Linked DNA regions of Homo sapiens: all the other regions are linked to region 3. Evidence: promoter capture Hi-C in 16 types of primary human blood cells and fetal thymus (Javierre and others, 2016). All regions are on one chromosome and are shown on one strand. Each heading gives the region's core, a stretch centred on a gene start or on the middle of the fragment in contact. The rest is flanking DNA. Distances are from core to core; before and after follow the strand shown.

Region 1 (3,379 bases), core at 879-3,378, 530 kb after region 3:
CTGCTTGAGGAAGGAGGCTGGTTCCTGTTCCCAGGGGTGTCCTCAGGGGAGACACTGTGTGGGCAGAGCAGGGACACCTGTGACCCCCCCGTGCTACAGCTCAGTCCCACCTGCATGCACTGCTCGCGGCTGCGTAGACCTTTCTGGAAGGACACCCCAGAATTGGGTCCATGGCTGGCCTGGACCAGGGCTGAACGGGAGAATGTCGCATTGAATGTTGGCCTCTGGGGATGTGTTCATCAGTTTAATAATACACGTACACTTAAATAATTGTTTAAGAAACAGGGGTACTTCCAAGGAGGTTGGGAAGAGGCAGCCTGCGGGGGCCTGAGGCCAGTGATAGGGTAAGGGAAGCCGGGAGCAGGACAGGGAGCCAAGGTACAGGCAGCCGTGTGACACCTTTTCTGCAGCTTTAAGGGCTGGAAGAGGTGCTGAGCTCCTTCTACCCCCAACTACTGAGGCTGGAGATGAGGAGAACAGTGGGGGGCTGTCCTCCAGACACGGGGAATGCCCAGACCCCAAGGGTAGTGTTGGGGGAGGCATATAAATAACAATAAATACACATAAATAGGGGGTGCCCTCTGGGGAGCACACGTGTCCAGTCTAGGGGCCCCACGGCCTCGGCGGTCACACTGAACGGGGCAGCACGCAGGTGCAGCCGACGGGGACGTGGATGAACTCGGTGTGGAAGGCAAAGGCCCCAGGTGTGGGGAGCCCCGAGCCGTCGCGGGAGCAGGGCCGGCGGCGCAGCACCAGCAGGCTCTGGAGCAGCCGCACGGAGTTGAGCGCAGCTGTCTCGCGGCCCGTCCGTGCATCGATACAGCCTCTGCACAGGCACTCGGCGAAGGCCAGCTTCTGTGGATAGCGGTCCTCATCCGTGTCCACACTGCGGGACGGGGTGCACAGTGAGTCTCTGGCCCTACCCTGTCCTCCTGGAGGCCCCTCTCCCCTCAGGGCCCCTCTCCGTGTACTCAGGATAGGACCTGAGGCAGCGAGGGCTGAGCCACACGGGCTTGGGGTGCAGTCGGGCTCACATGTGGTGGTAATCCACGTCTCCCCAGGGCCCTCCAAGAGCACAGAGCAGGGTCCGGAGGCCTCTAGGAGCCTCCCTTCCACTTCATCACCCAGCCCCACTTCTGCAGGAGCTCAGGTGACGGGCCCAGAATTTCCCCAGGGGACCCTGGCCACCTAGGACAGTGGGAGGCAGGGCACGGCCAGCCGCAAGCAGCAGCTCAGCCGTCCAGGTCAGGAGGGCCGGAGGGAGGGAGCTCAGGTGGCCACGCCCACTTGACAGGTGAGAACCACCAAGGCCCAGAGAGCTCTCCGGGCAGTCAGGGCCCCGCCAGGGGAGGGGCAGCCCCACGCCACAGCGGAATCCCCAGGTCCTCACCGGTATCTCCAGGGTGAGATGGAGCGCTGGTGGGTGTCTGCCTCCAACACCTCCTCCGGCCGCAGCACCGGGCACTGGGTCGTAGCTGAGGGCCTCTCGTGCCTCCCCCTGTGGCTTGCTGCCTCCAGGCTGGACACCAGGGCTACAGGCAAAGCCTGCCCCCACTTGGCACCTCGAGCCAGCAGGTGTGGGGGGGCCTGGCCGAGGGGCAGTTCCTCAGCCGAGTAGCAGTGTGGGGTACCGTGACTGTGGGGGTGCCCCCTGAGGGAGGGGTCATGGTGGGCCAGGCATGTGTGCAGCCAGGTCAGAAACAGGAGGCCGGGGAGGAGCTGGTGAAACAGGCAGGTGGGTGGTTAGGAGGTGCCCAGGGCAGGGGGCACCTCACTTCCACCTCAGCTTTCCTTGTTCCCAGCGGAAAGATGGAGTACAGCCCTCCCTCTATAGATGGGGAAACTGAAGCCCAGAGAGGCTAGCCCTTCAGCCCAAGACACCCAGCATGCCAGCGCTCCGAGGATCTGCAGCTGCCTCCCCTACCCCCAGACTGAGGGGTTTCCCAGACCCCATCCCAACACCCTCCTCCCAGGCTCAGAGAACCCCAGCCCTTCCATGCCAGGCTGCACATCCAAGCAGCATCCATCCGAGCGGCATGTGGAGAGGCTCACCGTCATGGTGGCGGCAGCGGGGCAGGCTGGGCTTGGAGCGGCCTGCACACCTGGCGGCAATCCCACAGGTGCACCTGGCCATGCACCTGGCAGCAGCCGCTCTTATACCTGAGGCCACACCTGGGGGAAATTCCGGCACCACTTCCTCCTCGGGAAGTGCCCAGCTGGGGCGCTTCTTCCTTCTCTGGTCCCCGCAGCCCCCGCCTGCTGTGCATCAGGACACAGACATGCAAGGAGGCCCCGGGAGGCGCTGTCCTGTTACCCCCCTCCCCCGAGAGAGACTCCGCCCAACCTGAGCACCTACACAGGGTGCTGCCTTGTCTGACATTCTCAAACTTTTTTTTTTTTTTTGAGACAGGGTCTTGCTGTCACCCGAGCTGGAGGGAAATGGTGCTGTCCCAGCTCACTGCAACCTCCACATCCCAGGTTCAAGCGATTCTCCTGCCTCAGGCTTCCGAGTAGCTGGGATTACAGGCACCCCCCACCATGCCTGGCTAATTTTTGTATTTTTAGTACAGACAGGGTTTTGCCATATCGGCCAGGCTGGTCTGAGGCTCCTGACCTCAAGTGATCTGCTCGCCTTGGCCTCCCAAAGTGCTGGGATTACAGGAGTGAGCCACTGCGCCCAGCCTTGAACCTCCTATAAGAGGGTTTCTGCTTGCGTATCCGTCAGCACCTTGCTGATTCAACTTGTAGGTTTTCATCTGGACCTGATGGTGGCGGGGCGCTTTTGCACCCTATACAGTTCTTCTCCGTCTGCTGCTGGTGGGTGCCAAGGGTGGTTCAGTGTTTTAGCTGAGATGGTCAAGATCAGGTGAGGCTCACGTGCCCCCTTCACCCAGGTGGGAGAGGTCCCGGAGATGGGGGAGGCAGGCACGTCTTCAGGTCTCTGTTGGGTTTCTGTGTTGTTTTTTTTTTTGTTGTTTTTTTGAGGCGGAGTCTGACTCTGTCGCCCAGGCGGGGAGTACAGTGGTGCGATCTCGGCTCACTACAAGCTCAGCTTCCTGGGTTCACGCCATTCTCCTGCCTCAGCCTGCCGGGTAGCTGGGACTACAGGCGCCCGCCACCACACCTGGCTAATTTTTTTGTATTTTTAGTAGAGACGGGGTTTCACCATGTTAGCCAGGATGGTCTCGATCTCCTGACCTCGTGATCTGCCCACCTCGGCCTCGCAAAGTGCTGGGATCACAGGCATGAGTCACTGCACCCGGCCTGGGCTTCTGTGGTTTTATTGAGAAAAAAGTTCAAGCTAAAAAGTCTGAGTTGGAGGTGTGAGGAGTGAGGTGTGAGGTGTGAATGAGGCATGAGGCGTGAGGCGTGAGGTGTG
Region 2 (3,492 bases), core at 897-3,396, 730 kb after region 3:
CGGAGGCAGGGGCTGCGCACAGCTGCGGGACGCAGTGGCTGCACCTCTGGCACCGCCGGGGAAGCTCTCGGCACAGGACCCGAGGCACGATGAGGAGCCAGGAAACCTGTGCGCGATGGCGAGGACGGCCCGGGCAGGACATGGAAAGCGGCTGTGGCCTGTGTGGTTGGTCCCAGGCGATGCTGCAGGAAGACCTGTTTGGTTTTCAAGCAGAACTTAGGAGCCATATGCGAGAGTGTGGATATGCCAGGCTGGAAAGAAAACTGCCACGCGTTTCCAGTCTCTCTCGCTGAGAAAGATGCTCGGAGGAAGCCCTGGCCTCAGAGTGAGGAGCTGGTCCAAGGTGTGGCTGCAAGACTGCGTGTCTGGCCCCAGGAAGACCCTGTTGCTGCATCTGGACATCGGCCTCCAGAATCGGAAGAGCTCGGCCACACAGCAGCCACGGCTGGCAGAGTGGAGAAGGGTCTGTCCATGAAGGTCGAAGGGGCCTTGCTCTGGTGGATGCACCATGAGATGAGATGGAAGGAGGCGGAGACAACACAGAGGGTGAAGAGGCCCGGGACCCCATGACCTTCACCAGGCAGGGGAGCGAGGGAGGTCCCTGAACGGCAGACTCGGCCGCCTCGAGGAGAGGACACCAGGCAGGGGAGCGAGGGAGGTCCCCGAACGGCAGACTCAGCCGCCTCGAGGAGAGGACACGCCAGTGCAGAGCCAGGCCCCAGGTGGCCGGGCTAACAGCACAGTCACTGTACGGGGCAGGGCCCGGGCTTCGGAACCGCCTGTGGCAGTGACGGACATGTGCCACCCTCCTCCCAGTTCCCGACAGGGGCATTGGTAGCATTTGTCCTACACCCCGTGCCCTGCACCCCGACGCACGGGCATACTTCACCGGAGGAATGACTCGATGGCCTCAGCCACACCTGGCCCTATCTAAATGTCAGGGCCCCGGGCCTGAGCCTGACGCTGAGACACGGTGAGACTTTTGGGGAGACTTTTGGAGGGGTGAGTGTGCCCTGCATCTGGGTGGAATACAAATAATTTGTGGCCAGAGGGCAACGGTGATGGTTTTAAAACATGGCCCCCGGATCTGTGACACACCTCCGTGCGGGCAGGGAGACCCAGGCCCCGTCTTGGATTTTGGCTCCGTGACTGCTTGGCCGGAAGGATGTGCGGGAAGCCACGCCACTTCGGCTCCCAGCCCAGCCCTCGAGAGGCCGGCGGCGTCTGGGTCTCGTCTTTCGGGACCCTCGATGTTGGAACTCAATCACCATGTTGGGTGGAAGCTCACTCGGAGACGCCAGCCCCAGCAGGTGCCTCGGGCAGCAGACGAGCTGTGCCCACCCAGCCCTGCCCAAATGGTAGATTTGTGAGCAAAAGACGCGATTGTTGTTCCGAGCCACTGAGTGCCGGGGTGGCTTTTCATGCAGCCAGAGATGACCGAGACAGAGGGTGGGAGACGGAGTCGGAGAGGGGCAGGGCCCCAGCCGCGCCAGGCCCTGGGGGGCGAGGAAGCACCGCATGACTTTGACTCCGCAAGCCTCGCCGCAGGGGCCCAGGTCAGTGTGGAAGGCGCCAGCCGCAGCGTGTGCGTCTCTCCTCACAGAGAGAGCGCCACTGCCTGGCGTGAGGCCAGCAGTTCACAAACGCCGTCTCCTTCTCACCACAGTCCCGGGAGGTCTCATGGAGCCCGTTTTACAGACAGGGGAAACTGAGCCTGCAGTGTGAAATCCAGCCGGGCGCAGGGAACCGCGGCTCCTTGCCTGGAATTGAGCTCTCAGAGGGAGCTGCTGGGAGCCAGGGCTGGAAAGGATGTTGCTGGTCACTTCGTCCATTTAACAGATGGAAGAACTGAGGCCCGGTCGGGGGTTGCTGGTGACCAGCCTGAGGCCTCTGGCCCCCAGCTCAGTGCTCTGCTGCTCCTGGGTACCTCCTGGTGCTGGCAGAACACATCTGCCCTCTCCTTGGGCCCAGAAGCAGGCCTGGGGTTCTCTCGGGCAGTGCAGGCCAAGGGGCAGTGTGTTCACCTCCCTGCCATGCCCCGGGCCTTGGGGAGGACCAGCTCTGCCTCCTCTCCTCACAGCCACGCGGCTGGTCAGTGAGACAGACACTGCATTGGGGAAAGGGGCCGTGGGCTTGGGACCCAGGCCAGGGCAGGCCTGGAAAGACAGACACCCCTGGGCCTCAGCGTGGCTGTCCTGGGGCTGCGATCCACCCAGAATTGGGAACTGCCTCCCGCTGCTTCCCAGCTGGAACCTGGCGTGACCTGCTTGTTGTCCTTGCGCTGGGAGGGGGAGACACTGGGGCTGGAGCCCCCAACTTCAGCTGCATCTCTGTGGCCCATACGTGGCACGTGGACAGAGGACACGGGCAGGACTGAGCTCCCCATGGGCTCCAGGGCCTCCAAGTCCCATCACCTCTGGGGTGTTTCAAGGAATCCCCACATTAGCCGCCCCAAAGTCACTGGGACACAGCCCCTTCCCCGGGGCCGGCCCTCTCCATCCCCCTCTCCCCACTGCGTGAACCTGGCCATCCACACATCTTCTCAGGAGAGCAGATGCTTCAAGGTGTAGGAGCGTGTAGGAGAGCCTGCTTTCAATAATGAGTTTCCCAGTAAACCGTCCCGGTAAACTGTTCCCTGAGGAGGGTAGGAGGGTGTGCCCCCATCCCGCGGAACCCCTGACCCTGCCCTGCATACCTCCTCTCTGTGCGGTGGGGTGTGGGGATGAAGCCAGGCCTGCCACTCACCACTGGCACCCTCCTACCCTCCCTCTGCTTCCTCGCCCCACAGGCTGAGACCCAAGGGCACCTGGCATGTGCTCCCCTGCCTGCGTCTCCTCCACGGCTGCCTGCCCCCTCTGTCTCCTCAGCCTGGCCCAGGGCACCCACTTCTCTCCTACCCCACTTCCCCAGCGGCCTTGGAATCTAGACGTGGATGATGGGAAATAACGCCGCTGTCTATGGGAGCTCTCTGCATACTCATAGCCTCCCTGCCTCCCCCTGCTGCTTCAGGGCAGCCCATTGGGGGTTCTGGCCACAGAGGGACTCTGCAGTCTTGGGGCAAACTGGGCCTCAGAATCCTGGGTGGGAGAGACAGAGTCCCCAGGTTGGGAGAGTTGGTGTGGACGGTGACCCTGACTGTGCCCAGGGGGAGGGTTGGTGTAGACGGTGACCCTGACTGTGCCCAGGGGGAGGGTTGGTGTAGACGGTGACCCTGACTGTGCCCAGGGGGATGGTTGGTGTGGACGGTGACCCTGACTGTGCCCAGGGGGAGGGTTGGTGTGGACGGTGACCCTGACTGTGCCCAGGGGGAGGGCTGGTGTGGACAGTGACCCTGGCTGTGCACAGGGCCGGGCCTCAGTGTCCACTCCCTCTGCAGGGGTCCCCACAGGGCCTGCACAGCTCACGCCCAGTGCTCCTCTGCTCCCAGCTCAAACACCTGTCCTTCAGGGAACCCTGCAGGGACTCCGCAGCACTCTCTCCTGTGGCTGTGTG
Region 3 (3,440 bases), core at 329-2,828:
GGAATGTTTTCACAGGCGCCAGCCTCCCCACCACCATGCCCTGGGTTGGGGTGCCAGGGAAGAAACCCTGTCCCCAGAGCAGGTGGGGAAGGGCCCTGGAGGCATGGAGCCCCCCAGCCTGCGCTCCCCGGCAGAGGGCTGAGGGGTGGAGGGCCGGGGGGTGAGCACGCATGCTGAGCCACTGTCTCCCCCCACCACTGTCTCCAGATGGGGGAGTCGGGGGTGGCAGGAGCCGTGGTGCCCTCAGGGGCAGCTGCTGGAGGGTCTGGCTGGCCAGGCGCCTGGTCAGCTGCCAGGGGCTGAAATTGGAGCCAGCTGGAGCTGGGAGGCCTGTGGGAATGAGGGGACTCAGGAAGCCCCTTCAGTGGGGGCTGGGAAAGGAGTGGCTTCCCTTACTCACTGTGTCCAGCACTCCCTGACCACCCCAGGACCACAAGAGCAATGAATACTGTGAGCACCGCTAAGCCCTTTATGTGCATTCTCTCTCGAATTGGCCAGAGAGAGGCTGCCCTCTTGTACCCAGTGACGTCCCAACCACAGCCGGCCATGCCCCAGCCCAGCCCAGTCCCTGGGGGCTGAAGCCACTGAGGCCACATCCTCCATGTCTAGGTCCCCCTAGGGTGTGAGGAGACGTGGCTCCAGCTAGGCAGTACCCATGTCGGGTGTGGGGGGCTGAGGCCTGGGCTTCCTTCCACTCTGGCTTGCTCCCACGTTGGAGAGACCACGGTGCCAGCAGTCCAGACAAGATTTTTAGGGGCAGAGTCCAGCAGCCTCTGGGGGCTGGGCCCCCAGGCCTGATCACCCCAGGCAGCTGCGGCAGGGTCCCAGGTGAAGCCCAGGAACAGAGCCCCCAGGGCTGCCACACGCCACTCTGCAAGGCCGTGTGTTGCGACCTGGCTCGGGCTGGGCCCTCCCAATCGAGAAGTAGCCGTGAGGGTGAGTTCCTGGGGGCAGGGCCTGCAGCCACCCCTGCTGGCCAGGAACTTGGGGTGGGGGGTTTGGACAAAACCCAAGACTAGCCAGGGGTCCTGTGCCCACCGCAGGGAGTCCCTATAGAAACCTGGCCCCCAGCCCCCCAGAGAGGGGCACTCCTGCCGCTCCCCCCTCTCTCTGCTCCACTCAAGACTGGCAACCCCCAGACCCCGGCAGCGGTTCCTCCAAAGAGAGGGCACGGCTACCTGGGTGGCCCCTGCCTGGGGTCCCTGACCCCAGCAGCACTCTGCAGTCCTGGGGGTGATTCCACCAGATGGAGTGTTTGGTTACACTCACTCCCCACAACCCCTGGGGTGCTGCCCCCAGCCCAGGGACCCACCCGGAGCCACTCCGCTCACAGGCCCCCAAAGGCGACCAGGGCCAGTGGTTCTGGGGGAGACCTGTGCGGCTGCAGTTGAAGACACTGTCCCGCAGCGTCGAGGGAGGCAGCGGGGACCCCCGCAGGTGCCGATGCCTTACCTGGGCCAACAGCCCGAGGACGAGGAGGAACGCGGCGTCCATCGGGGCCGAGGCGGGAGCCGGGCCGGAGTGCACCCGCGACCCGAAGAAGCGCGTCCAGGCTGAGTGACAGCGCAAGTGCGCGGGGCGGGCCAGGGCCAGAGACAGAGACAGCACGTGTGAGGGGGGCGGGGAGGGGGCGGGGCAAGGGCTGAGTGACAGCACGAAGGAGGCCTCTGACGGGCCGAGGGCCGGCCTGGGCAGGGCTAAGGCTGAGTGACAGCGTGTTGGCAGGCGGGTGGGGCGGAGCCTCTGGCGAGCTAGGGCGGGGCGCAGGCTGAGTGATAGCCCGTGTGCGAGTGGGGCAGGCGGGGCGGGGCCGGGGCCGAGGGCTGAGTGACAGCGCAGGTGCGCCGGCGGGGCGGTGACCGCACGAGGCTGGTGGGGCGGAGCCAGAGGAGGATGGGGCGGGCGGGGCGGGGCCGAGGGCTGAGTGACACCTTGTGAGAGTGCGGGGTGGGGCCGGGGTGGGGCCGGGGCGGGGCCGAGGGCTGAGTGATAGCTTTTGCGGGGTTCCGGCGGGCAGGGCCAGGGCTAGGTCGGAGATACCCCGGCTTGCTGCGTTGGGAGCAGAGCCAGAGGCCAGGCTGTGGGGAAGGCAGGGTGGGTGCGTCCGGGTCAGGGACCAGCTGGGATTCCTGGCTTCTTCATTTCCTGCTCCTTGGGCCCGGCTCGCCCCTGCTCCAGGGAATCTGCATTGTAGTCCCTGCCGGGGGACACCTCTTGAGCACTTCCTTGGGCCCCTCGCCTCTCTGGCTGCGTCTCCTGCGCCTCCCCGCATCCCACTGAACGCTAGGCCCGCCTTCCACGCACCTCCTCGCGACCTCATTTTGCCCAGCTCTTATTCAGTATGGAACTGCTCTGGTTCACACGCCTCTGATACCAGCGTGGCTCGTAGGACACCCCCAATTCCCCCAGTCCACGCACCTCCTCCAGCATCCCCTTGTTCCCCGAGGCCCCCTGCCTGGAGCACCTTCCTTCCTACAGAACTCCTTCTCATCATCCCTCAACACCCAAGGTCAACGCTGCCGCCTCCTGGAGCCTCCTTGCCACCTCGGCCAGAAGCCCTCCCTCCTGTTGACTGTGGCACCTGTTCTCCCCTTCGAGACCCCGCCCCCTGGGATGGTGTGGGTGTGGCTCAACACCTGCACAGGCCCAGCGCACGGTCAGGAAGGTCCTGGAGAGGGGGTGGAGGGGGCTGGAGGCAGGAGGATCCTTTCTTTTGAGCAGGCAGGGTGGGGAGTGGGGGTTGCCGACCAGCCCAGGGCCGGGCCGGGGAGCCCGTTCCTCTCTGTGATGGGAGCAGACCCGGTACCTCTGCTCTCCTGTCGACGGCGGGTGGCTGTGCAGGTGCAGGCAGCATCTGTGCACTTGGCCTGCTTGAAAGGAGGCCAGGCTGCCCGGGAGGCTCAGGCCAGGACTGTCCCTAGCGCTCACTGCTCCAAGATGAGAGAGGGCAGGGAGTCCATCTCCAGACTGGGAGGCCTCTGGGGCTGGGGTGTAGCCTGTTGGGGACCACCATCCTGCCTCTGTGGTCAGTGACCTCAAAATAGGGGTGGAGAAGCCCTCTGAGTGCTTTTGGTTTTCATCCTCACGGGACTAGTGCAGGGGTGAGGTAGAAGTGCTCGCCCTCCCCCCAGAAAGAGGTCTGGGGAGGCTGCGGTCTGCCAACCCCAGCTCCTCTCCGCTTCCACCCTGCACCCACCTCGCTTCAGCCACCTGCCTCCCACCCACCTCGGGGAGAAACGGAGGCCAAATCCCTCCTCCATGGGATGTGGGGGTCTCTAAGGGAAAGGCTAAGCTGGGCCAGGTCCTGGGTGAGCCCCAAATGCAGGGCGGGGCCAGGGAAGCAGCCGGCTTAACCACTGCGGGAGGGTGTGCTCCCTGGCTGGCGGGCTATCCCCCAGGGGCAGGTGCCCCCGCGAGGGACCCCGCTCCACATGCTCCCA

What was found. Contacts are between HindIII fragments. The CHiCAGO score rates a contact against its expected background, and 5 or more counts as called.
Region 1: the fragment with the promoter of IL17C here is called in contact with the fragment with the promoter of CDH15 in region 3 in 1 of 17 cell types (neutrophils); the score reaches 5.1 in neutrophils.
Region 2: a contact is called between a fragment that was not itself captured here and the fragment with the promoter of CDH15 in region 3, in 1 of 17 cell types (total CD4 T cells). The highest score is 7.3, in total CD4 T cells.

The regions. Positions count from the first base shown.
Region 1 is chr16:88,637,321-88,640,699 of GRCh38, reverse strand. It overlaps IL17C (interleukin 17C), which reads right to left and starts at 2,128. Exons shown (of 3, transcript NM_013278.4): 1 at 2,053-2,128; 2 at 1,391-1,719; 3 at 232-886. The coding sequence starts at 2,058. The coding sequence ends at 628. LOC124903755 (a long non-coding RNA gene) reads right to left here. Exons shown (of 2, transcript XR_007065181.1): 2 at 3,266-3,379. RefSeq lists an enhancer at 1-83. The HindIII fragment of the contact is 4,920 bases long and covers 1-3,379 here.
Region 2 is chr16:88,443,506-88,446,997 of GRCh38, reverse strand. No RefSeq gene overlaps it. Among named protein-coding and RNA genes, the nearest start is that of ZFPM1, 8.0 kb to the left of the region's middle. RefSeq lists an enhancer at 3,010-3,492. The HindIII fragment of the contact is 6,767 bases long and covers 1-3,492 here.
Region 3 is chr16:89,169,886-89,173,325 of GRCh38, reverse strand. CDH15 (cadherin 15) reads right to left here and starts at 1,578. Exons shown (of 14, transcript NM_004933.3): 1 at 1,453-1,578. The coding sequence starts at 1,494. RefSeq lists a silencer at 1,503-2,142. The HindIII fragment of the contact is 9,317 bases long and covers 1-3,440 here.